Linked DNA regions of Homo sapiens: all the other regions are linked to region 3. The links are contacts of gene promoters, found by promoter capture Hi-C in blood cells and fetal thymus (Javierre and others, 2016). All regions are on one chromosome and are shown on one strand. The core of a region is centred on a gene start or on the middle of the fragment in contact, and the rest is flanking DNA. Distances in the headings are between cores, read along the strand shown. Region 1 overlaps FGD4 (FYVE, RhoGEF and PH domain containing 4). Region 2 overlaps FGD4 (FYVE, RhoGEF and PH domain containing 4). Region 3 holds the start of FLJ13224 (a long non-coding RNA gene). Region 4 overlaps FGD4 (FYVE, RhoGEF and PH domain containing 4). Region 5 overlaps FGD4 (FYVE, RhoGEF and PH domain containing 4). Region 6 overlaps FGD4 (FYVE, RhoGEF and PH domain containing 4). Region 7 overlaps FGD4 (FYVE, RhoGEF and PH domain containing 4).

Region 1 (3,055 bases), core at 440-2,939, 1.1 Mb after region 3:
GTTGACTCAAATAGAGGCTACTAAACTTATTCTTTTAACCTTTAACCTTTCCAGAGTTAAAATTTACTGTCATTCTTTTTAAACATTAGATTCCCGACTTAAGGTGACACAGTTATAATATTTACAGTATCATGTTGTATTAAATGAGATGGCCCATTTGTAATATATGAGATAACCTGATACAACTCAGAATTAAATGTACAACTGAAAGGTTTAGCATTCTAGTCCTGAGCCATCCAAATTCGCTCAGTGACACAGGTCAGATCACTTATGCTGAATGACTTGCTTTGTTATTTGCCTAAATTAGAGAAGTGTAACTTGGTTAAATACGTGATAGGGCAAGGTTTGAAACATACAAACAAAAATGCTGTCCCTCCCTTCAGTACACCGTGTCTGATTTGTTCACTTGAGTCCTTAGCATCTACTACAGTGCTTCACACATAGCAGGCACTCAAATATTTGTTGGTTGAAATATATGTAAGAGAGAAGTACACCTATTTTTTCTGTGGTCATTATTAGAGGCAGAAGGTGTATATTTTCACTGTTTGTTTTTGTGTCTGTGTTGGGGAAGGAACAAACCCTAAAACCTTTACCCATTACAGAAGGAAAGAACATTGGTACAAGACGAACTGTTCAGCAAGAATAGATTTGAATGTCTGATCTGTCCCCAAGTCTTCAGATGCTGCAGATGTTAACCATGGCCTCTTGGATGCCCTCACTTGCTCATTCATTCACTTTGATTGATTCATAAGATGAGCTTGAGTTCATGCCAGCAAGTAAGCCATGATCTTAGAGGGAAAATGACTGGAAGCAGATCACAGTGCAATATGGTGTTAGAGGTATTAGGATGGATAGATGTAGAAAGTACAGTGGGAGTACAAAGAAGGGAAGGGAGCCATCATTTTTGTCTGAGCAAATGGAGCAGAGTCATATGGACTCATAGAAAAAGGGGTGCTTGGCTGGGCGCGGGTAGCTCACCCCTGTAATCCTAGCACTTTGGGAGGCTGAGGCGAGTGGATCACCTGAGGTCAGGAGTTCGAGAGCAGCCTGACCAACATGGTGAAACCCTGTGTCTACTAAAAATACAAAATTAGCCAGGTGCGGTGGCACATGCCTGTAATCCCAGCTACTTGGGAGGCTAAGGCAGGAGAATTGCTTGAACCCAGGAAGCAGAGGTTGCAGTGAGCTGAGATCGCGCCACGGCACTCCAGCCTGGGCAACAAATAATGAAACTCCATCGCAAAAAAAAAAAAAAGAAAAAGGGGTGATTGAGCTTGGACTTGAGGTAGGAATGTGTGTTTAGCAGGGGGAAGGAAAGAAGATAGAAGGGAAGCAGTCCGGTAACACAGGAGCAGCCTCATCACTTCCTGTAGGCTGCAGTATAGGAGAGGATGTGTGGGAGGGAGTGCAAGGTAAAACTGGGGAAAACCAGAAACCATGAGACAGCTCCTGAGACAGATTAGACTGTTTCCAAAGTGTGGTTAGAACATGAATACATTAAATAATAAATAAAACCTTCGTTCCACTAAGTGAACTAAATGTTGTATTTTTATGTAACTTAATCATCTTCATAATGCTCTTGGAGAGATAGACAGTATTAACATTTATAGACTGAGAAACTGAGATATCAAAGTCAGGTAATTACACGAGATGTGGTTCCTATATATTATTTTTTAATTTCAAAAACTATCTCAAATATACAGAAATTTTTTTTTCCTAATTGATTTAATAGTAAGTTACCCACTGCCCCATCATTTCTGTATATTTAGTGCCTTTGTTTTTTTGTCTTAACAAACAAGGACATGCACCTACATAGCTGTAATATAGCTATCAAAACCAGGAAGTTAACATTGATCCATTATTACCATGTAATTCCCAGATCCCATTTAAAGTTTCACCAGTTGCACCAATAATGCCCTTCATGGCAAAAGGATCAATTTCAGGATTACCCATTGCTTTTAGTATCCTGTCTATTTAGGTTCCTATAGCCTGGGACAGATCCTTAGTCTTTCCTTGACTTTTATGACCCAGAGGTGAAAGGCCAAATGTTTTGTAGAATGTCCTTAAACTTGGGTTTATCTGAGGTTTCCTTGTGATTGAATTCAGGTTAGACATCTTTGATGGGACTGTCATAGAACTGATGCTGTGTTCTAATTGCATCTTATCAGGTGACTTATGATTTCTGTTTGTCCCATTATTGATGCTGTTACTTTGATCACTTGATTAAGGTGGTGTCTGCCTGGCTTCTCCAGTGTGAAATTTCTTTTCTTCTTTGTAATATTTTGTGGGGAAGTAACTTTAAGACTATGTAACTGTTTCATTTCTTTTCTTTTCTTTTGAGACAGGGTCTGGCTCTGTTGCCCAGCCTAAAGTGCAGTGGTGCAATCACACCTTACTTCCTGCCTTGACCTCCCGGGCTCAAGGGATCTTCTCACTTTAGTCTCCCAAGTAGCTGGTTCCACAGGCATGTACCACTATGCCCAGCTAATTTATTTTTATTTATTTTTTTTTATTTTATTTATTTTATTTTTTTGAGATGGAGTCTTGCTCCGTCACCCAGGCTGGAGTGCAATGGTGCGATCTCAGCTCACTGCAACCTCCGTCTCCCTGGTTCAAGCGATTCTTTTGCCTCAGCCTCCCAAGTAGCTGGGATTACAGGCACGTGCTACCATGCCTGGCTAATTTTTGTATTTTTAGTAGTGACGGGGTTTCACCATATTGGCCAGGCTGGTCTCGATCTCCTGACCTCGTGATCTGCCTGCCTCAGCCTCCCAAACTGCTGGGATTACAGGCATGAGCCACTGCACCTGGCCTATTTTTATTTTTTAAATTTTTGTGGAGACAGTGTCTTGCCATGTTGCCCAGGCTGGTCTTGAACTCTCGGATTTAGGAGATCCTCCTGCCTTAGCCTTCCAAAGTGCTGGGATTACAGGTATGAGCCACCATGCCAGGCCACCTATTTTTTTTATCACACTTTAAGTTTATTCATTTATATCAGTGTGTAGTCACCATTTCCTAATAAATTATAATCTTTTACTTCCCTTTCAAGCTGGCT
Region 2 (2,700 bases), core at 36-2,535, 1.2 Mb after region 3:
TGCTTGTTGAATTCATATCTATGCAGCTCTTAACGTTTTTCTGTTGCTTCTAACCCTTCCAGTAGGGGAAACAGTTGGCACATATTCCAGCTTTGGAGAGGAAATGCTTGAAGTCTGTAGCAGGGTATAATTGCTGAATTCTTCAAGCGAATTAAAGATCTGAATTTGCTCTAGGGCATTCATAATTATTTTAATTTCCTGGAACAGATTCTAAGAATTCATTTTAAATCTGAAAGTTTTTCTTAAAATCTGTTTTATGATACACTGTCTTTATTTTTGTGAATATTGTTAGTTTCTCACAACAATATTTATTTCAGTTCATTTGGATCTAAGATCTTTGTTGTACTTATGTGTGGCCAGTAGACTCTTTAGCAAAATTAAACAAATGCTAATGGGTTCCCACAGCCACCCAAATATTAGAAGTACAGCTCCAGATTATGAGCCTGTTTCTCTTTTTCTTTTCTTCTTCTCATTATTTTAAAGAGATGGAGTCTCAGTATGTTGCTTAGGCTGGTCTCAAACTCCTGGGCTGAAGCCATTCTCCCGCCTCAGCCTTCCAAGTAGCTGGGATTACAGGCAGGAGCCACCACCCCAGACATGAACCCACTTCTAATGCAAAACACATATTGACCTGACAACAGGGCCCTCAGTTGTGGTGGAAAGAGCAGTGACCTTGGAATTAAAAGCCCTGTTGTGACTCGTGGCTTTGCCACTTTTAACCAACCCTACTTTTATTTACCTATAATGTGCAGGTATCTGTCTCACTCTTTAGGGATGCCAAAGGTGAAATGAGGTGTGCTGTCTATGTGACAGTGCCTTGTGAGCACTTTTCTGACTTCTCCCTGAGGAGGTTTGGGTCAGGCCTAGCAGAAACTGCAGCCATAGAGCATGGAGGGAAGTAGGACTTGACTAGCATAAAGTGAGTCTATGAGAGTGTGCCCACTGGTTTCCAAAGAGAATGTCGAAGAGTCTACAATGGTGAGGCCTCATCAGCCTCGATTTGAGAAGCAAATGTAGGTCAGAAATGGGGAGCAGAACAAGAGGAAAAGAAGAAGGTCAGGAGTGTGCAGAGCTGAAGAGGTGGTGAGAAGTGGTTCAAAGCTGGAAACAGGCAAGGTAATCTGGAATTCTGTCTTGATGTCTATTGAGTTATCCTAAATCAAGACTCATGTTCCTCTTACCTTATATTTCTTAAATTGATTTGTTTGATGCCCTGGGTATTTTGAAGCTCCTAGCTGCATAATCTTGCCTAATAAAGGCACAGAATTAGGGCAAATAGCTGCAGTGACTTGTGTACCTGCTCAGTGAAAGCCAAAGAATCAATAGCTAGAATCTGTGTCCACAAATTGCTTACAAACCACATGTAGATATGACATTCAACATCAGGCAAGGCTGGGCACGGTGGCTCAGATCTGTAATTCCAGCACTTTGGGAGGCCAAGGCAGGAGGATCACTAGAGTTCAGGAGTTTGAGACCAGCCTGGGCAAGATGATGAGACTCAGTCTCTACAAAAATGAAAAAAAAAATAGCTGAGTGTGGTGGCATACACCTGTAGTCCCACCTCCTTGGGAGGCTGAGGTGAGAGGATCACTTGAGCCCAGGAGTTTGAGGTTGCAGTGAGATATGGTCATGCCACTATATTCCAGCCTGTCTGCATGTAAAAACAAAAAATACACACACATACACACACACCCCAGCCTAACCACTTACCACCTCTTAATCATCTGTATAATGGACATAAAAATGCCTGCTATACTTTACATCATAGTATTCTTGAGTGGAGTAAATGAAATAATGCATATAAGGTGCTTTGCACAATGTGTGCTTGCCTCACAATAAACACTCAATATTATTAGATATGATTTCTACCATTATTACTAACAGTAGTAAGAATAGCAGTAGTATTTAAAAGCAAGTTTGCATTAGTTTTAAAGCACTATGAAATCCCAAGTCTTTTTTAAGACGGAGTCTCACTTTGTTGCCCAGGCTGGAGTGCAGTGGTGCAGTCTCTGCTCACTACAATCTCCGCCTCCCGGGTTCAAGCGATTCTCCTGCTTCAGCCTCCTGAGTAGCTCTGATTATAGGTACCCGCCACCACACCCAGCTAATTTTTATTTTTTAGTAGAGACGGGGTTTTACCATGTTGGCCAGACTGGTCTCAAACTGCTGACCTCAAGTGATCCACCTGCCTCGGCCTCCCAAAGTGCTAGGATTACAGGGATGAGCCACTGCACCCGGCCTCAAGTTATGATTGTTAATATTTTTGTGACATTCAGGATAAATATTTTTTAGTATGCTACTGAAGGACATGTCTCAGCATCGGTGTATCCCTTCCTGAAGCTATATGTTACCTTGCATTTACAGAGTTGACTTGGTGTCCAGAGAACAAATCAGTTGAGAAAAGGCCATTTTGAAAACGATTTTTTCCAGGGAGCATACGCTAGTACCCTGTTGCGGCATCCATGTGTGAGGGGGTGGTTGGATTATAGATCTTCAATGTGAAGTCAAGTTTCTTATCAAATGAAGTGTTTTGTCCGATCTTAGAGTTTAAACCCACAAGGAGGTAACAAAGCAAAGGGCTAATATATCTTTTCGCTACTTAGAACTACAGGCCAGAAATTTGCTTTTGTATTCTGAGATCTTATGATACTTGTCTCAATGAAATAAAACTGCATGCATTATTCTGCATTTCCATATTAC
Region 3 (2,835 bases), core at 94-2,593:
GAGAGGTAACCAGAAGGTCAACCACAGTTCACGGGATCTGGGAAGAAGCTAGCCGTTACCCTGTGTCATCTTCCTGAGCAGCTTCCTCCCCAGCCAGCTCCCCAGCCTCCTTACAATGTTTCCAAAAGGCCCAACTCCCTAAACATTTGCTTCTTCAAGGTCATCCTAAGGCACTGAATAACCACCAAACACTGAGTCACGCATACCTTTCGCCTAAAAAAGATCCCCCTTCCCAAAATCATTATATAAATACTTTAAATGCCATGAGGGTTTTCTCCGAAACTCCACCAGAAACAAACTCCCAGACTTTTAGATTGGGCAACTAAATGTGTTCAATTTTGCGACATAAAATTTTAAAAGGCTTTTCAAGTCTGGCAAATTCCAGTTCAAAAACAGGTGCTTTCAGCGTACTCTGAATAACAAGGTCAAATTCATTTTTAAATTATTAAAAGAAAAAGAAAAGCTTTTCTTAACCCTCCTTAGGACAACTTAAGAAGGGGGAGAAAGAATTGCTGGGGTAAAACTGTCTCGGATAGGGTCCCTGTTTAACTCAAGAGTAAATCCTAATCTTCCGAGTGCCTGAAGTAATGGAAGGTTACAGGAAGAAAATAAAAACAAAGAAACTGACTAGGGTCATAGTTACCAGAACAAACTGCACCGCCCTACCACCTCAAGAAACCAACTCCCCCTACACCAAAACAAACCTTGCCCTTCCCCGCTCCCCCCACCCCCTAGAAACACACAAAGAAACTGGCCGCACGCACAATTCGCCCACAGTCCTCACTTCCCTTAGTAGGGCAACAGGGAGCCCCGGAACTTCCCCACGGTGGTTTATCGGGCGTCGTCGGGGCTGGGTCCCCTGGACTTGCGGGCCACAGCTCGGCTGGGGAGGAGGTGCTCGCCGCCCTCACCCGTTTCTCTGAAAGCAGTAAAATGCCTCCCCGCTCCTCCCAGGGCCCTCGGGTCCCCACCTTCCGTAAATCGTGCTTCCCCCTCGGGCACTCCGGTGACTGCCGAGAGAGACGCCGAGCCAGCAAGTAAGAATGCTCCCTGGTGGATTTGTTGGTAAATAAGACATCTCGCGTCGGGAGGAAAGTTCCTGCGGGGGCCGCTCGCCGGGGCGAGGGCGAGGGCAGCGGGAGGTGAACCGCGTCGCTCGCCGCCACCTCCCTCACCTGCGCCGGAACAACGGGCCCCGCGCCAGCCCGGCCCGGCGCCTCCCGCAGGCCGCGCCTCCCGCACGCCGCGCTGCCGGGGCTTGTTCCTCCTCATGGCTTTGCCCTGACGTAATTCAAACATGGCAACAGTTCGACTTCAAAGGCGAACCCACAGACCTCCCAGACACAGGCTCCCGGGCCACGAGAAACCGGCCGAGCAGTCCGGGCCAAGCTCCCCGGAACCCTCGGCCGTCGCAACCCCCGACGCCAGGGCTGAAGCGCCGGGCACTGCCGCCTCCCTCGGTCGCCCGCCCGCACGCCCGGAGCGGGGAAGCACGCCGCCTCCCTACGCACCAGCATGGCACCTCGCACAAGTAGCGCCGCCAAAGTTTCCCCACGAGGGGGCTGAGGGACAAAAGCCCCTCCCGAAACTCGCCCGAACTTCGAGGGCCTCCGACCTGCACGGCCCTACGCCCAGGCGGCGGCCCCGAGCGCCGGGGGCCCGCACGGGCACATGCAGCCCTTTGTTTTCTGTCCAGCCGGGCGCTGCCTACGTGCAGCATCAGGGATGTCGGAGCGTTTCGCAGGGGCCGGACACTGGACGATCACCCTGGGTAGGGGTCCGGACCCCGCGCCCCGAAGAGTCCGGAGCCTGGCCCCCCGACCCTCCCCTCGGGAGCAGGCCCATTTAATCAAAGTTTTGCAGTGTCCTTGATGAGAAACGCCCGGAGTATCCGCCCCGCACGGGCGGAGAGTTGGCGACTTTCACTCTGCTTTTTAAACTGGCAAGACGCCATCATCAGCAAACCACATTGTCCTGCCGGCCGGACCTGCCCGACGGCGGCCGCATCCCACGGCTCACGCGGGGCTGGACATTCGGACAAGGACCAGGGTCGCAGCCCGAAGCACGTGGTCTGTCACGTAGAGCACAAAAAGCAGTGCCCTGCGGAGTTCACTGACTCCCGCGGCGTACACAACGCCGCCGCCTCCATCTCCAGCCAAGTTGGCTTCCCTGGCCATCTTACAGCGCGGACGGCCGCCCATAAACGGGAAGCCCTCGCGGTGTCGCCCACACCTACGCTACAGGTGAACGCACCGGGAGCAAAACTTCGGGCTCCGAAAGCACCCCGGACACCAGAGGCTCTTGGGCGCGGTCCGAAGAGGGCAGGCGAGTGGAAGACGGGCTGTTTTTAAGCGACCGCGTGTTGCTCTCATTGTCGCATCCGCATCCCTCCGGAGTTGAGCAAACAACGCCACGCCGCGTGCGCTCCGGCAGAGCCCAGCACTGACCCCCAAAGGCCGATTTAAAGACCCTCGGCCGCCAGCTCGGAAGCGGATGGCAACTTAGTTTCCGAGCGAATGGCGTTTATTGTCCACCCTAGTCCGAGGGCTGCAGTCAACTAAACCACGAGGTTTCACAACGGCGCCCGACCCTGCCCGCGCCTCGCGCCCACGCGGACGCACCGACCCCGGCCGCTGCGCGGTGGCCAACGAGTCGCTTTCCTCTCGGGCCTTTCGGCCGCCGGGCTCCTTTCCGCGAGAGAACACTGCGGCGGAGAAAAGTCATTGTCACCTTCAACGTGGATCCCTCAACTCCGGCGACTCCTCAATTATGCCCAGGCTCCACTCACTTCCCCGCCCCGAGACTTTCGGTTTGCCTCAAATACCCTCCCCAATT
Region 4 (2,820 bases), core at 177-2,676, 1.2 Mb after region 3:
CCTCAATTTTCTTATCCATGCAATGGGAGGATTTCTAAATGTCTTAAGACTTTATGATGTTAGTGTGTATTTCTCCAAGTAGTTTTCTTCATGCTTCCACTTGTTGGTTCATAAGCTGCATCAGGTGTGTGTTTTACTATACCCATCAAAATGTCCTCACCTACTCTCAAAGTGCTTTAAGGTAACATACAATTTTTAGTTTGCTATTCCATATAACATAGAAACATAATAATTTTAAGAAGTGATGTTACAAAGTTGAGCTGAGTCTAGGTATTATGGTTTGATTCTGACTACAACATCTGACTATCACATGAAAAGGGACATTTGTGTTATGTAAATGTTGAATTTACATCATGATTAATGTTTAGGTGTTTTAAAACATCTGTTATGTGATAAATTAACTAAAATACCCCTTTTTAGGCTGGGTGCAGTCACTCATGCCTGTAATCCCAGCATTTTCGGAGGCCGAGGTGGGTGGATTACCTGAGGTCAGGAGTTCAAGACCAGCCTGGCCAACATGGTGAAACCCCACCTCTACTAAAAATACAAAAATTAGCCAGACGTGCTGGTGGGCACCTGTAATCCAAGCTACTTGGGAGGCTGAGGCAGGAGAATAGCTTGAACCTGGGAGGCAGAGGTTGCAGTGAGCCAAGATCACACCACTACACTCCAGCCAGGGTGACAGAGGGATACTCTGTCTCAGAAAAAAAACAAAATAAAAATAAAAAATCCCATCTTATTTTTTAAGAAATGGCGCCTCACTCTGTCGCCCAGACTGAGGTATGGTGGTATGATAGTAGCTCACTATGTAACGTCAACCTTCTATGCTCAAGTGATCCTCCTGCCTCAGCCTGTTGAGTAGCTGGGATGACAGGCACATGCCATAACACCCAGCTAATTTTTTAAAATTTATTTTTGTAGAGATGGGGTCTCACCATGTTGCCTAGGTTGGTCTCTAATTTCTGGCCTCAAACATAAAACATTCATTTTAATCCATAATTTTACTTTATAGGCATAACAAGGATGAGAAATTTGCCTATCAATCAGTGCCTTCCTCTTTTAAAAACCTGACTTGTTTTTATATAGAAATTACTTGGGATTGCTAGGTAACCCGCATAACCATTCCTGGAAAAAAATGGAAGGCCCTTTTTTGCTTTTGGGAATATGGAGAGCTTATACACAGTTTCACTATTCAGCATTGCTTGCAGTATTTCTTACAATTTTCTGATGTCTGTCAAAAAGAATCCTCAGATCTTTTAAGACCAATTTTTTTTTTTTTTTTTTTTTTGAGACAGAGACTCGCCCTGTTGCCCAGGCTGGAGTGCAGTGGCGGGATCTGGGCTCACTGCAAGCTCCGCCTCCCAGGTTCACGCTATTCTCTTGCCTCAGCCTCCCGAGCAGCTGGGACTACAGGCGCCTGCCACCACGCCTGGCTAATTTTTTTTTTGTATTTTCAGTAGAGACGAGGTTTCACCATGTTAGCCAGGATGGTCTCGATTTCTTGACCTCGTGACCCACCCGCCTAGGCCTCCCAGAGTGCTGGGATTACAAGTGTGAGCCACTGCGCCTGACCAAGACCTATTTTTAAAGGGAAGTTTGTTATAAGCCTAAATGCCATAAATGTAATAAAGTTACATGTATTTGGCATCATACTTCCTAGTCCACCCCCGGTATTCTAGAGCTCTCTCAGTACATTTTGAAACACCTTCGTGGAATTTTGAAATGCGTTGCTTGCGTAGTTCCTTGAGCCTGCATCACTGCCAGAAGAAGACTTATGAAACAGAACTCTGTACTTCCCATTAGTTAGTTCTTTATCATGTTGAACACTAGATGTGTATGTGTCTAGTGTCTAAATACAGAATGCCTATAGTTTCTACCAACAAATTATGGATCCAAATCCTTGCTCCAGAAGCAGGAAATAGGTTAATCAGAAGATTGCTGGATGTTATGAAAAGAATCTTTTATGGGGGGCTGTGAGTATTGTTTTGCAATTGCCATTTCTGAAATATCTCAGGTTAAAACATTTGGATTTTTTCACTATGCAAAGTATACAATAGATGAGGTCACTGGTATTTCTCTTTGTTTACTGTTAAGTGATAATAATTTGTACCACGATGGAAAAATTATCGTGGATTTTCTTTAGAGTAGTTCAGTGCTGTGGTTTTAGCACAAAGGTGTGCTTTTTCTTATCTTCATGATCCAGGAACAATTACTTGAGGGAATGGCATTTCTCCCTGTGAGTTCATAGCACAGAGTGTTTCCTGAGAGTAGTGGAAGTGAGTAAGTGCAACCACTGTTGACCCTTGTCATCTCAGTCTTTTTTATTATAACCTCTTTCCTTCTACTTTTTTCACTTGTCTTCTTTCTATTTCTAATATTTAAGATTTACACTTTAGCCAGTTTCTTAAAACTTATTTGTGCACCTAATATTTTCTTGGTCATCAATTATTTGGGGATAAAAATTCCCCCTACTTCTAAAACATGAGCAAGGTACATTGGTAATTCTCAGGTTTAAGGATTTCTTGAAATAACATTATCTGATTTATTGGGATCTGAAGTATAGTTGACTTGACTAGGTACTTCTATCATTGTGGCTTAAGTGATCTTGTAGTCTTTTATATTTAACTGAAAAATCATTTTAGGTTGATGTTTTTGTTCAGAGAAACATTTTAAATTTTAAACCAATATTTTTGTTCAGTAGGAAGGAGAAAAAAATAAACATCCAAGTATAAGCTACTGTAACATTTTGAGGTGTTTTTCCTCTTTGTAGCTATTGTTTTGTGAAACTGAGGCTATACTGTTTATGGATTTTGAATTATA
Region 5 (2,902 bases), core at 189-2,688, 1.3 Mb after region 3:
CTGAAAGCCTACCATTTGGCGTGTTAAGTATGAAATATAGTGCAGACTTTTATCTTGGTTTTAAGTGGGGCTCAATAAAAAACACCAGCCACTTTTGTAATAATGGCATCACAGTGTCATCATGTATGCAAGCAATAAAACTCTTTAGGGTATGGTTTTATACTGAAAATTTAATATGAAGGCCCCTTCCCACAAGAATATAGATAATTATTAACTTTCTAGATGTGATACGGTAATTCGAATTGCAGAGTATAAGGAAGGGAAATGGGAAGGGGCATCATTCCTTGGATTTTAAATAACTATCAAGAACATTTTTACTTTAACAAAGAAAATGGATAGAAAAAGCACATTTTGTTTTCCCTGAAGTTTAATTTGACATCAGGTTTGTGTACTTATCTTCACTAGGTGACTTAACTTACCCCAATTTTTTTAAAAATTATTAAACTTTTTACAGAAACTAACCTTTTAAATGTACCCTTTCCCCATATATATATACGCACACGTTTGGATTTTTTTTTTTTAAGAACACTTGTTCTAGTTATAAATATATAAAGAAAACGATAAAGTTTGTGGTACTGCAGGGTTGTTAAAGATTCTTTGATGCCTTCTAAAAACTTTTGTCAAAAATACTTTTGAGTTCACAATTCTGTTTTACTTTTCCTTGTCCTTACTTTTTGGAAACAGGGTGGTTGCTTTTATTTGTTTTCTGGTTATATTCAAAGCCTTAAGTTCTTAATCTGAGCATATTGTCTGTGATAAATTTCTGATGATCTTTCTGGACTAGATACAACCTGAGTAGCAAGCACCAACCGGAGCAAGTAAACTTCTAGGGAACAAGCGTCTTGGGTTTTATAGGTATCTTTGCTATAATGCAGAATAGATTAATGAAGATTTCCTATATCATATGATATTTGTGTTAGTGGGTCTAAGATTAAGCACATGATATTTATAAGCTAAAATTAACTCAAAAGTCAAGAATGTCTTAATGTTTTCATTCTTAAATTTTGTATTCTCCAAGAATGTATTAGTATATGAACTGTGGCCAACCAGTTCCTATTCTTCAGACTGTATTGACATCTGTAGTGGATCATGTTGCTTCTTCATTCTTACCAATTTTATTAGAATCAAACTTCTTGTTATTTGCATACTATTATCTACTATAGATTCTCAGCTTTAGAAAATGACTATGATACATAAAGACCACTAGGTCAACTTAAAAAACCCTTTCTGTGAATTTATACATGTATGTATATATGTAAAAACACTGTTGATTTGCAATTCTGTCTTTCCATAGAAATGAACTTTTTCTATCGAAATTGTTTAACTTAAATATTTTAACATAAATTATTTACATGGATCTTTATGTATAATTCATCCTTATATATACCCCTTAATCACGTAGTCATGAGAAGATAACTTTGCTTTCTTTACAGAAAGGGCAGAGAGGAATAAGATAAGAAACTGAAACAAGCAAGAATGAAGAGAGATGTGGGGGAGAGACTGCTGGTCTCCAGACCACAGCAATGTGTTTTAAGATAAGATGAAATATTTTAACTGCAGAAGGGATATAAAATCTATGTAATTACATGCTGATGGGATCCATTGCACCCAGGTTTTTGACCTTGGCCTGTAAATGCTAGACTATGATATCTTGTTATTCTTTTTCTCCTTTGGGCTTTTAAAAAATAATTTCATTCTCAGATCATTTTCTGTACTGTTTACTGAGGCAAAAAAAAAAAAAATCTGAAGTCAATCATGGTCTTCTACTTTCTGGACTGAGCATTTGGCAGAATGCAGTATCTTTTCCTGTATTTTGACATGAAATAGCACATGGCTTCTACAAGATAGTTTTAACTTGTTGGGGTCACCGGGAGTTATATGATGGTCAACCCCTTTTCCCAAAATTCATTGTGGTAGTTTTAGTGGAAAACGTAAATCAAGAAATCTCATATCATACTTTAATAAATAAATACCAAATACATAGTGACATATAGGTTTGGGAAGAAACTAGTCTGTGGGGACCATTATAAGAGAATCACATTATATATTACACAGTATATGGATATTGGAATGTATCACTTGTGGGGGGTTCTCTTCATTAGCAAAACAGTCATGTCTGTCTGTATATAAGACTTTTTTTTTTTTAACCAAACTAGCATTTCATTTTGTGAGTGACAATTGACATTTTAAAATAAGCATAGGCCGGGCATAGTGGCTCATGCCTGTAATCCCAGCCCTTGGGAGGCCGAGGTGGGCAGATCACTTCAGGTCAGGAGTTTGAGACCAGCCTGGCCAACATGGTGAAACCCTGTCTCTACTAAATAAAAATAAAACAAAATAAGTGTATCTGGGCCAGGCACGGTAGCCCATGCCTGTAATCCCAGCACTTTGGGAGGCCGAGGAGTTCGAGACCAGCCTGGCCAACATGGCAAAACCCTGTCTCTACAAAAATTAGCCAGGTGTGGTGGCACATGCCTGTAATCCCAGCTACTCGGGAGGTTGAGGCAGGAGAATTGCTTGAACCCGGGAGACAGAGGTTGCAGTGAGCCGAGATTGCACCACTGCACTCCGGCCTGGGTGACAGAGCAAGACTTCGACTCAAAAAATAAAATAAGCGTATCTGGATTTTTCTTTTGAATTCTTGACTGATAAGTTTGAGAATGTATGTTTTTGGAATTTTACAGTTGACTCAAGTGTGAAAGTATACACAAGTAATTTTTCTTTTCTAGCTATGTGAATGTAAAATACTTGCAGATAATGTATATATTGTGTAATATATGTATATTTGGTCATAAAAGCAGATAATTGGAAACATTGTAAAATTAAGCACTTTAATTCCTATTAAATATTAAACATTTGTATCTTGTAAATAAACACATCCTTAAATTAATTCCAAAGCTTT
Region 6 (2,783 bases), core at 213-2,712, 1.3 Mb after region 3:
GATAGGTTTTCACCATGTTGCCCAGGCTGGTCTTGAACTCCTGAGCTCAAGTGATCCACCCGCCTCAGCCTCCCAAAGTGCTGACAGGTGTGAGCCACTGTGCCTGGCCAGACACATCACTTTAACAAACTCTCCAGGCCATGGCTTCCTGACATGTTGAAATCATTGAGATGACAGGAAGGAAAGTAATGGTGTGGGTTTGAGAGAAGGAAGTAGAGTTGCTAATTAGGTTAGTTTTGTACTCTTATACTAAGTTTATGGTTCCTGCAAAACATCCATTTGGAGATATTAATTAAGCAAGTGGAACTGTGGATCCAGAGCCCAGGAAAGAGGGTAAGAATGTTAAGAGGATGGTGCATGAGGGTGTGATTAACATTGCCAAAGCAGAATGTGTAGGAACAGGAAATGGGCCAAGAGTTGAGCCATGAAGCACAAACAATAGAAAAGGATGTTTAATAAATTGTCCAAGAGGAGAAAGAAGAGAGAACAGTGTTTTGGAACCACAGGGATGGAGGGGAATGGGGTAGGGGTGCAGGCATATTGGAAAGCTTTAAGGAAAAAAGCATGGTCAGCATTTAGAATATGGAACTAGGAGTTAACTTGGAGACCTAGCCTTTAGTAGGCCTTGATAGCTAACTAGCTGTATACTAGTATATAACTTGGTGAACTTGAGTAATTGAACAAAGTTGAGCAAATGTATATTGCACATAGGCTATGGGCAAGGCACCGCAGTAAATACAAAGAAGAAACTTACAGTTGAGATGGAGAGTTAAGACAACAAATGACCATTACTCAAGATATCCTGAAGTAAAGGGAAAAGGCCTCACTGATAAAGCTAAGGTTTACATCATGGCTATTAGTGTGAATTCACTGTTGTTAGCAGAAACGGAGAAGTCATGGAGAATCTAGGACGGACTGAGGGACCACAGCACGGAGGTAGCTTGCAGGCTTGGTGATTGAAGTGTCGATTTGGGCAGTCCTCTGCCAAGACCAGCAAGAAGTCCTCCAGGTGCAAGACTTGGAGCTTGGAGAAGGTGCTGTTGTGGCAACAGTGACCATGATTCTGAGAGCATCGGGCAAAGACTATAGAGCCAATCAGAAGTCTTCCCAGCATTGCTGAGTGGCCTGGAATTCAAGAAAGAGAAAAAGCAAACTTGGAGTGGGAATTAGCCAGGATCAGCAAGTCAGCAGTGCCAAGAGAACAAAGGATGGGGTTTAACAGAACGTTGAGTTGAACCAGGAGAATTGGGAAAGATCAGGTGCTTAGAGGTCACAGCGTGTAGAAAGACCCAGTTTAGTTGAGTGTGAGAGAAATGGAAAGCTAAAATCTTGCTTTATATGGGGTTAAAAACAAATTAAAAAGCCAGATACCTAACCTAGTGGTCAGGAACACAGACTCAAGAGCCAGGTCCTCTAGATTTGAATCCCACTCAGCTACTTACTAGCTCTGTGACCTTGAGCAGATTACTTCAACCTCCCTGTGCCTCAGTTTCCTCATCTGTAAAATGGAGATAACATATCTACCTTGTAACATTATGAGGTATAGATCATGTACTAGTTGTAAAGTACTTTAGAACAGTGCCTTGGCATATAAAAGCTATGTGTTTATTAATTAAACATCCTGTTTCCTCACTTGTGAATCAAGATCAATAGACTCAAAGCCTAATATGTCATTTAATAGATCCAAATTTCAACACATTCTGCCAGGTTAATACCAGCACCTCTCTTTCGGTTCTCCCACTGTAGGATACACAGAGAAGTTTGCATACCACCTCTTTTTTAACTTAGGGTTCCTGTATTTTGTTTCTCCTGCCTGAGGACTGTTGGTTATTACCACATGATGTACTCTCATTAGTGTATACAAGGTTCTGACTTAACAGAATTAACATAAAGCGTTTATAAATGACTGAGATACTTTGATGACTAAGTCTTTAGACAGGTTAATTCAGTTATTTAATGTGTATACATATTCAGTTTTTCTTGGTGCCTGTTCTTTAATTTCTATAAAACTCAAAGGACTCTTTAGTGTAACTTACACTACATAGATTATAAGAAGACCAAAGTTGTTCTCTCTTCACCACCACTTACTTCCTGTCTGATCTTGTGCAAGTAACCAAACTTTTTTTCTTTGTGCAACCTCTGTTTCCCCCTCCTCCCCATGTCACGAAAGAACGTAATTGAAACCTTCAGATTAAAAGCTCTCACTTTTAACTCTCCTTGAACCCAGGAGGCAGAGGTTGCAGTGAGCTGAGATTGTGCCATTAACTCTCACTCATTGTTCTCCCCTCTTATTTCAAGTTTTGAATTGGATAGTGTGGAAGACCTAAGTTTGGGAAAATATTGGTGGTAAGTCACAAGTAGGCCTGGACTACTTCTTGAAGCTTCTTGAAGGATCATGCCGAGCTGACAGCCTGTTGATGCTTATGACACTATATTATAAAGCAAGGAATGCCGGGCGCGGTGGCTTATGCCTGAAATCCCAGCACTTTGGGAGGCCGAGACAGGTGGATCACCTGAGGTCAGGAGTTCTAGACCAGCCTGGCCAACATGGTGAAACCTCGTCTCTACTAAAAATACAAAAATTAGCTGGGTATGGTGGCAGGCGCCTATAATCCCAGCTACTCAGTGGGTGCTGAGGCAGGAGAATCACTTGAACCCGAGAGGCAGAGTTTGCAGTGAGCCGAGATCGCGCCATCGCACTCCAGCCTGGGGGACAAGAGTGAGACTTCATCTAAAAAAAAAAAAAAAAAAAAAGCAAGGAATGATATATGCATATCATAAGT
Region 7 (2,700 bases), core at 183-2,682, 1.2 Mb after region 3:
CACTGGCTCACACATGTAACTCCCAGCACTTTGGGAGGCTGAGTCAGGAGGATCACTTGAGGCCAGGAGTTTGAGACCAGCCTGGGCAACACAGCAAGACCTTGCCTCTGCTTAAAAATAAAATAAAATAAAAAAATAAAGCTGGGCACGGTGGCTCACTCTTGTAATCCGAGCACTTTGGGAGGCCAAGGCAGGCAGATCACTTGAGGTCAGGAGTTCGAGACCAGCCTAGCCAAGATGGTGAAACCCCGTTTCTACTAAAAAAGAAAAAAATACAAAAAGTAGCTGGGCGTGGTGGTGTGCACTTGTAGTCCCATCTACTTGGGAGGCTGAAGCAGGAGAATCACTTGAACCCAGGAGGCAGAGGCTACAGTGAGCTGAGATCATGCCACTGCACTCCAGTCTGGGTGACAGAGCAAGACTCCATCTCAAAATAAAATAAAATAAAAAATCTTTGAATAGTTTTAGTATGTTTTAGAGTAAGTTTTGAAAAATAATGTAATATCTTCTGAGATATTACTATAGATGGAAATTTGCCAGAATAATTTTGAGAAAAACCTTTGTATAACTGGTAGATGGTATTTAAAAATAGGTATTGTGACTTAGTAAGTGCATCCAGTGATAGACTTCTTCCCTTTAGGACGATGAATCTCTCTTCATGGCAGTCATTGAAACTAAGTATGGAAGTAAACTGAGATAGATTTACTCTTCCAAATTGCTGTATTGTGAAATATTTTACAATTTCTTTTTAAATAAACGAATACAAGAGCTTTAAAGAGATTTTAAATGTTTTTGAGTTTTAGCATTTACCTTAAAAGATTTTTTAAAAACAAGCAGATTCAGTCACATTGTTCTCTTAACAATAGTATTTTTACCTCTACCTTGCCCTATTTTAAGTTCTATTGTGGGTTTTTTTGTTTTTTGTTTTTTTTTTTTAGAGATGGAGTCTCGCTCTGTCGCCCAGGCTGGAGTGCAGTGGTGCAATCTTGGCTCACTGCAAGCTCTGCTTCCCGGTTTCACGCCATTCTCCTCCCTCAGCCTCCTGAGTAGCTGGGATGACAGGTGCCCACCACCACGCCTGGCTAATTTTTTTGTATTTTTAGTAGAGATAGGGTTTCACCGTGTTAGCCAGGATGGTCTCGATCTCCTGACCTCGTGATCCACCCGCCTCGGCCTCCCAAAGTGCTGGGATTACAGGCATGAGCCACCGCGCCTGGCCTATTTTTGTGTTTTAAAGTGTGTATCTTAATACAGGAATGCTTGTATCTAACTCTTACCTACATTGTGTGCGAATATGCATACTAGGGGATGCATGCCCAGGATTTATTCTGATAGGGATGTGCCCTCAAGAAGTTTAGAGATAAAGTATTCTAGAAAGCCTTCTCTTACCCTCCGCTCTGTACCTCCAGCAGTCACAGAGCCTCAGCCAAACTTGTCAATTACTATTTTACTTGTTTGCTCTCCCTTTGGTTCCTCGAGAAGGAACTATTTAATGAGACTGTATAAAGTGTTTGAAAACAATGTGCATGGGAGCCATAATAATGAACAGGACAGACAGGGTCCCTGTCCTCTAGAAAAAAGGACATTGCAGGCTGGGCGCGGTGGTTCACACCTGTAATCCCAGCACTTTGGGAGTCCGAGGCGGGTGGATCACGAGGTCAGGAGATCGAGACCATCCTGGCCAACGTGGCAAAACCCTGTCTCTACTAAAAATACAAAAATTAGCTGGCATGCCTCTAATTCCAGCTACTCGGGAGGCTGAGGCAGGAGAATTGCTTGAACCAGGGAATCGGAGGTTACAGTGAGCCAAGATCGCACCACTGCACTCCAGCCTGGCGACGGCGAGACTCCGTCTCAAAAAAAAAAAAAAAAAAGGACATTGCATGAATATTTAATTACGTTTGTGAAGAAATGTTCAAAGGAAACAACCCACAGGGAATAATTAGACTTAGTCATATGTAGAGACCTTAACGTCACAGGAACTGAAAAAGCTGGTGTGGCTGAACTGATGGGCAGGACTTTATAAAAAACATTCCCAAGTCCCTAACAATGTGTCCTGTATACTATATTGAGTCCCATATGGGGCTCAGTAATTCTTTGTAAATAAACAAATACAACATCTTTAGAAGGGATTTTAAATGTTTTTGAGTTTTAGCATTTACTTTAAAAAATATTGTTTTCTAGTTTGCCATAGGTTACTCTAATTTCTGCTGTTTTAAACTCGAATCCTTACCCATTTGTGGCAAATAACATTTGCCTCTGCTATCCTGTGCAGAGGATGAAGATAAGCCATACTCCATGAACAGTGAACTGTTTACTAATACGAGATTATTTAAGTTCCACTACTGATGAACTGTTGTGTCTTAAAGGCTATATAGGTATTTTATAATCCTTAGCATAGTACCGAAGACCTGTTTGTTTCAACATGATTACTAAAGTTGACAATATATAGATTGCCAAAATAATAATTAGAAAATTCCAAGCAAATAAATTTATAATTTATTTAGTACCCATTTAAACGTGCATATGATGGAAATGAGCTGTTTTTTAAAAAATTAGTTCCCTTTTTATCTTTGACCTTATTTCCTACCACAAATTCAGTAACTTACAAAGATATTTAAAAGCTGACTAAATTTGCATCTACTAATATTCTTTTTTCTTTGGAATATTATTACTGTAATATACTTCTGAGATTGTATT

The links. The method cuts DNA at HindIII sites, captures the fragments that hold promoters and counts their contacts. A CHiCAGO score of 5 or more calls a contact.
Region 1: a contact is called between a fragment that was not itself captured here and the fragment with the promoter of FLJ13224 in region 3, in 1 of 17 cell types (monocytes). The highest score is 5.6, in monocytes.
Region 2: a fragment that was not itself captured here is called in contact with the fragment with the promoter of FLJ13224 in region 3 in 1 of 17 cell types (neutrophils); the score reaches 5.5 in neutrophils.
Region 4: a fragment that was not itself captured here is called in contact with the fragment with the promoter of FLJ13224 in region 3 in 1 of 17 cell types (monocytes); the score reaches 6.4 in monocytes.
Region 5: a contact is called between a fragment that was not itself captured here and the fragment with the promoter of FLJ13224 in region 3, in 1 of 17 cell types (M2 macrophages). The highest score is 5.1, in M2 macrophages.
Region 6: a contact is called between a fragment that was not itself captured here and the fragment with the promoter of FLJ13224 in region 3, in 1 of 17 cell types (monocytes). The highest score is 6.9, in monocytes.
Region 7: a contact is called between a fragment that was not itself captured here and the fragment with the promoter of FLJ13224 in region 3, in 1 of 17 cell types (monocytes). The highest score is 5.1, in monocytes.

The regions. Positions count from the first base shown.
Region 1 is chr12:32,447,418-32,450,472 of GRCh38, forward strand. All of the region lies in intron 1 of FGD4 (FYVE, RhoGEF and PH domain containing 4), which reads left to right. Among named protein-coding and RNA genes, the nearest start is that of FGD4, 49 kb to the left of the region's middle. The HindIII fragment of the contact is 3,961 bases long and covers 1-3,055 here.
Region 2 is chr12:32,545,766-32,548,465 of GRCh38, forward strand. The region is part of intron 1 of FGD4 (FYVE, RhoGEF and PH domain containing 4); the gene reads left to right. Among named protein-coding and RNA genes, the nearest start is that of DNM1L, 130 kb to the right of the region's middle. The HindIII fragment of the contact is 4,271 bases long and covers 1-2,700 here.
Region 3 is chr12:31,322,973-31,325,807 of GRCh38, forward strand. It overlaps FLJ13224 (a long non-coding RNA gene), which reads left to right and starts at 1,344. Exons shown (of 1, transcript NR_026806.1): 1 at 1,344-2,835. The region is part of intron 1 of SINHCAF (SIN3-HDAC complex associated factor); the gene reads right to left. RefSeq lists an enhancer at 2,267-2,835. The HindIII fragment of the contact is 3,270 bases long and covers 462-2,835 here.
Region 4 is chr12:32,484,171-32,486,990 of GRCh38, forward strand. All of the region lies in intron 1 of FGD4 (FYVE, RhoGEF and PH domain containing 4), which reads left to right. Among named protein-coding and RNA genes, the nearest start is that of FGD4, 86 kb to the left of the region's middle. The HindIII fragment of the contact is 5,006 bases long and covers 1-2,820 here.
Region 5 is chr12:32,643,161-32,646,062 of GRCh38, forward strand. FGD4 (FYVE, RhoGEF and PH domain containing 4) reads left to right here. Exons shown (of 17, transcript NM_001370298.3): 17 at 1-2,890. Among named protein-coding and RNA genes, the nearest start is that of DNM1L, 35 kb to the right of the region's middle. The HindIII fragment of the contact is 2,915 bases long and covers 1-2,896 here.
Region 6 is chr12:32,587,577-32,590,359 of GRCh38, forward strand. All of the region lies in intron 4 of FGD4 (FYVE, RhoGEF and PH domain containing 4), which reads left to right. Among named protein-coding and RNA genes, the nearest start is that of DNM1L, 90 kb to the right of the region's middle. The HindIII fragment of the contact is 1,833 bases long and covers 547-2,379 here.
Region 7 is chr12:32,519,517-32,522,216 of GRCh38, forward strand. The region is part of intron 1 of FGD4 (FYVE, RhoGEF and PH domain containing 4); the gene reads left to right. Among named protein-coding and RNA genes, the nearest start is that of FGD4, 120 kb to the left of the region's middle. The HindIII fragment of the contact is 7,816 bases long and covers 1-2,700 here.